Linked DNA regions of Homo sapiens: region 1 is linked to region 2. The links are contacts of gene promoters, found by promoter capture Hi-C in human tissues and cell types (Jung and others, 2019). All regions are on one chromosome and are shown on one strand. Each heading gives the region's core, a stretch centred on a gene start or on the middle of the fragment in contact. The rest is flanking DNA. Distances are from core to core; before and after follow the strand shown. Region 1 has its middle 240 kb from the start of ASIC2-AS1. Region 2 holds the start of CCL13 (C-C motif chemokine ligand 13).

What was found. The method cuts DNA at HindIII sites, captures the fragments that hold promoters and counts their contacts. A contact is called where the count stands out against the background at its distance.
Region 1: a contact is called between a fragment that was not itself captured here and the fragment with the promoter of CCL13 in region 2, in 1 of the 25 tissues and cell types used here (dorsolateral prefrontal cortex).

What each region holds. Positions count from the first base shown.
Region 1 is chr17:33,795,879-33,798,578 of GRCh38, forward strand. It overlaps a transcript of ASIC2 not described here. Among named protein-coding and RNA genes, the nearest start is that of ASIC2-AS1, 240 kb to the left of the region's middle. The HindIII fragment of the contact is 3,291 bases long and covers 1-2,700 here.
Region 2 is chr17:34,354,943-34,357,732 of GRCh38, forward strand. CCL13 (C-C motif chemokine ligand 13) reads left to right here and starts at 1,538. Exons shown (of 3, transcript NM_005408.3): 1 at 1,538-1,660; 2 at 2,533-2,647. The coding sequence starts at 1,585. The HindIII fragment of the contact is 2,821 bases long and covers 611-2,790 here.

The sequences.
Region 1 (2,700 bases), core at 151-2,650, 560 kb before region 2:
AACTCTTCCCCTTGAAGTTAAACAACAACAAAAAAAGAGGTCTGAGTTGAGCACATGGCAGAAATTCATGAATACTTGTTGAATCTGGGAGAATTCCAGTAGATTATCAACACTGTTAAGATGAGGCTTTGTGAGAGGTTGACTGCATATGCCTTTACTGTAAATCTCCATGACTGTGAGGGCATTTTCCACTTAATAGGCCAAGTGCCACAATCACAGTGGCTTCTTCTTGCCCTTGGTTTAGAAAACCATAATTGTGTCGGAGGACAGACTCCCCCACCTTCCTTGTAGACCACCAATGTGTTTAGTACATACTTTGAGAAAATTCTCAGTTGAGTTCAAGGCTCTGTGCTCCCTGGGAAACATGGAATACACACCAGAGTGCCACAGAATGGAAAACACATAATGCTAAGCACATCTGGGTCAGATCCCAAATCTAGTATCTGCCAGTTTGTGTCCTTGAACAAGTCATTTTGCTCCTCAGGATTCTTGTTTGCTTATTGATAAAAATAAGGCTAATTCTTAACTTCCAAGGATTTTGTTGGAATTAGAAATAATATTACATGCTTAATAGCAGGTTGGATCTCAAAGCTAGTTATTATTAGTAGTAATAATAATACCTAGATAATACTGATATTACAAAGGAAATGAACATTAGCTAGCCTGTATAATGTAAAGGCTAAAACTGTAGTGAACACTGACTCTATATCATGGTCAACTTTAAATATTATGTAACAACAGACACTCACACATACATTTCCAAGATCCATCTGATACTTGAAAATGATGCTGCCAGAAACGCTCTTTCCCTTTAGTCATTGGCCTTCACTCATAGCCTGGCCTATGCTTGCCTTGAATGACAAGTATGAAGTGAGGGAAAAAGGTATTTCTGCCATACAGAGAAACTTGGGGCTGGTAGGAGATTAAGGGATGGGAACCCTGAGCTCCAGGCTTGGCTCACTCATGTACTAAAGGTGTGATCTTGTGCAAATCATTTAATCTATTGAGTCTCAGTTTCCTCCTTCATTTATTTATTCATTCAACCAACATTTATTATACATAGAGACTCAAGTATGGTGTCTCCCTTATGCAAGAACCATGCAGTAGGTGAGCTGGAAGTAAGCAAAGTGGAAATGCTGACATGTTCAGTGCATGTTATGGGGCATGCAGATCCAGGTGAGAGCCATGAGAGTGGAGCCTTTTCTCTCTCACTCAGTGCCATAGTTTCACCCCTGACGCAGTGCCCAGTACATCAATATGTTCAACAAACAAATGAAGATGAAATTCTGCTGCATAGATCAGGGAAAGTTTTAGAGTGAAGGTAACACTTGAGCTGGGTCTTACATGATGAGCAAGAAGAGGTTAGAAAGAGACAGTAGGAGTGGACCCTCCAGGCAGAAGTAGAGCTGTGCAAAGTCCTGGAGCTGAGACAAACCTCTGAGATGTCAGGGAAACGTCTGGCATGACTAGCGAGGAGTGTGCACAGGGAAGAATGAAATCCCTTGGCGGCACTGTGAGAATGAAATGAGTTAGTAATGCAGAATGGCTGGGGGAAATAGGTTAGGCGGTATTATTGCATCCTGCTACCTTGATGTATAAATGTTATATATTTATCTTATAATTGTTGTTGTCATTACTTTAGATTTCAGTCTAATTTTGTTGGTCCATGATTGATCATTAGTAAATAAATATGCATGTTGATGTGAAGCTTGGCTCTGTGTACAGCATTATTGATGGGTTCATTCACTGGTCCAACAGATATTTTATTCTGATAAATGTTAATTGCTGCTCAGAGTGCCTGACCAAGGTAATTTGCTGAAGCGTGAGTTTGCGCTTCCCTGGTTCTATTTGTCTGCAGACAGAAGGCTGTTTGGAGGACTGAAATGTGGGCATGTTCCGCGTTTGTACTCTTGGCCTTTGGGGACACTGCTCAGTGCTTGCAGCAGGGAAGGAGGTGGGGTTTCTCAATCACACCTGAGTGCTTCTTCCTACAACTTCAGCATCCTATGGCTTCCTCCTTCTCATCACTCACAGGACTAGCCCCCACACATAGGCTGGCTCAGCTGTACAGAGCCTGGCGAGAGAGGGATCATCGCAGTGTGCAAAGGAGGAAGTGGGGAGAGGTGATGGCAGAGGTGGCAGCTGAGGAGAGAGGGCTCTAAGGAGCAGATGGGAAACAGGATGGGAAAAGGAGATGCAGCTTTCATCAGTGCCGGAGGGAAGAAAATGAAGTGGGAAAAGGATGAGAGAAACTAAAGGACTAGCGAGATGAGGAGGTAAAGGGAGAGAAGTAGGTATTGGAACAAAAATTGAAAAGGGCAAGAAAGTTGGGGCAGGAGGAGGAAGTAGGAAAGGGAGACAAATGGGATGAGATAATTGTATAGAAAGATTCCTTAGAGCAGGTGTTTATGCAGAGATTCTGGGCTCAGGAAGCTTTGCTGCGTGGAAGGGTAGAGAATGTCTAAGACCACTAGCTTGCCAGCCTCCACTGATTCCCCAAAGTGAGGAGGTGTCAGGTGTCAAAATATTCAGTGGTGACGCATGAATTAGCAGAGATCAATTTGTGTTTAAGAAATCTTGATGGAACAGCCCAAAGCACAGATCAAAGCCATCAAGCGAATGAGACTGTTCATCCAATTAGCACAAATCCAGCACCTGGCTCTGTGGAGCGCAGCAGCTCTCAGGCTGGCATCTTGATGG
Region 2 (2,790 bases), core at 288-2,787:
GGTCAGTTAGATTTTTAAGAAATTCATCCATTTCCTCTAAACTAAATTTTTGGCATAAGGTTCTTATCATTTTCTTTTTGGTGTCTGCAGGCTCTGCAACTGGTTATATGTACCTTTTTCCTTTTTTCTTTTCTTTTTTTTTTTTTCTGGGACAGAGTCCTACTCTGTCACTCAGACTGGGGTGCAGTGGTGCAATCTTGGCTCACTGTAACCTCGGCCTCCCAGGTTCAAGCAATTCTCCTGCCTCAGCCTCCCAAGTAGCTGGGATTACAGGCATGTGCCACCATGCCTGGGTAATTTTTGTATTTTTTTTAGTAAAGACAGGGTTTTACCATGTTGTCCAGGCTGCTCTAGAACTCTTGACCTCAAGTGATCCCCCCGCCTCAGCCCCTTTTTTCTTTTTTTTTTCATTTTCAGTTCAGGAGAGTTTTAGCTTAATTATAGGCTACAGAACCAGCTTTGGGCTTCATCTATCCTTTCTAATATTTACTGTTTCCTATTTCTCTAATCCTAGCTCTTTATTTCTTCCCTTTACTTTCACTGGGCTTATTTTGCTATAGTGGAATGCAGAGGGATGAGTATTCCAGGAAGGCACAAAAACTGTGCCAAGTCTTGGAGCTAGGGATGAGTGGGAAAGGGACATGTTCAACCATTTTAAGCCATTCCCTCCCCACCTCCCAGCTCCCAGATATGTGCCCCTCGCAGGAGGAGCCCAGGAATGGGCCAAACACCTCACTTCTTTGCTCTGAGGGCCACCCCAGCCCTCCCATCAACAGCTCTAGAAACCCAATGGTCCTTCCTGGAAACACGGGGCCTGCATCAATCAGAGGTGTTTGAACCATGTCCCTCTGGGCCTGAGGGGCAGAAGGGGACACAATATGTAATGTAAGGAGCCCCTGTCATCAGAAATCTGACTTAATCTGTTTCAGATATTAGACTTCCACATAAAAGTTGACTTGGAAAAAGACTTCTGCTGCTAAACAAAAGTTGAAACTGCCTTGGTGATAAAATATAAGCAGACCAGCTTTCTCTTCTAGCTTTCCCTCTCATTTCCCATAAGATTTTGGTCAAGTTATTTAATCTCTCTGCATCCGTTTCCTCTTCTATGAAATGGGCATGATAATAATGGTATGTACCTCCTCAAACTAAATATATAACGTGAACAGAGTCCTTAGCACAGCACTCTTTCTCTACAGGAGTTAATTTTCATTGTTTTTCTCTTTCCTGTTGGAGAAAGTAAGAAGAAAACAGCTCCTTTATGGCTTCCCATGGTGAATGGCTGGGGCGCGTCTGTGTCCCTTTCTCCTCTCTGGCTCCTTGTGGCCTGAACAGCCAGAAGGAAGCCATGCCATGCTGTTTCAGCCCTCAGCTTCCCTCTTGCATTTCCTAGAAAAGTCTTTGGTGCCCAGCTCCAGCTCAGCAGATTCAGGATCCCCCTTCATCATGACTTGGTCAACGCCCTGCTCAGGCCAAGGTCCTCTGAGAGTTCCAAGCTTCTCCACTCCCTATAAAAGGCCGGCGGAACAGCCAGAGGAGCAGAGAGGCAAAGAAACATTGTGAAATCTCCAACTCTTAACCTTCAACATGAAAGTCTCTGCAGTGCTTCTGTGCCTGCTGCTCATGACAGCAGCTTTCAACCCCCAGGGACTTGCTCAGCCAGGTAAGTCACCTCCCTTCGACTCTCCCTCTCTTTCCCTCTGTTTCTCTATTCAAGGAAGACCTAAGCCCGAGTGCTCCTCCACTTTTTTTTTAGATTGAGTCTCATTATGTTGCCCAGGCTGAAGTGCAGGGGTGCGATCTTGGCTCATTGCAACCTTCACCTCCCAGGTTCAAGCGATTCTCTTGCCTCAGCCTTCTGAGTAGCTGTGATTACAGGCACCCGCCATCACGTGCAGCTAATTTTTGTATTTTTAGTAGAGAAGGGGTTTCACTATGTTGGCCAGGCTGGTCTCAAACTCTTGACCTCAAGTGATCCTCCCGTCTCGGCCTCCCAAAGTGCTGGGATTACAGGCGTGAGCCACCAGGCCCAGCCAAGTGCCCCACTTCTAAGCCCACCAGAATAGTAAGGCTCCTCAGAGGTTCACTTTAACATCTAATTTTAAAGATAGAAAGCTGAAGCCCATGTTGGAGGCAGAAGGGACCCTAGCCATCCACCTCCAGGTTATTGCAGAGCAAGAATGAAACCTAAGCTTCTGACTCCAGATTTAGGGCCTTTTCTTTGACCTCATCTGATCGTCCCAAACTCTGCAGATCTGGGACCACACCCAGGACCTTTCCCACTGGCCTTGCCCGTGGCCTCCCCTAGATGGCTGTGACATGTCTCCACCATGCAGCTGAGCCTTTGAGATCCTGAGGCACATGTCACAGGTCCCACCTCACCTCAGGGTCTAGGGTGGGAGTGCTGGGCTTGGGGGTGAGTAAGATCTATTTCTTCCTCTTTGCTTTGCATCCCATACAGATGCTCCCTGCTGTATTCAAGCTGAGAAAAGCCTAACACATCCTCAAAGTCTTTTTCTTTGTAACTATTTCTAGATGCACTCAACGTCCCATCTACTTGCTGCTTCACATTTAGCAGTAAGAAGATCTCCTTGCAGAGGCTGAAGAGCTATGTGATCACCACCAGCAGGTGTCCCCAGAAGGCTGTCATGTGGGTAGAAAAATCCCTGCTCACCTGGCTCCTCCCCACTCCCACATTCCCCAATCCAAAGTTCTGCCCCAGGAGACAGACGTCAGACTGACTTGAGATCTTAGGATGAGATCTAGCCAGACTGTGTGATGCAAATCCTCCAA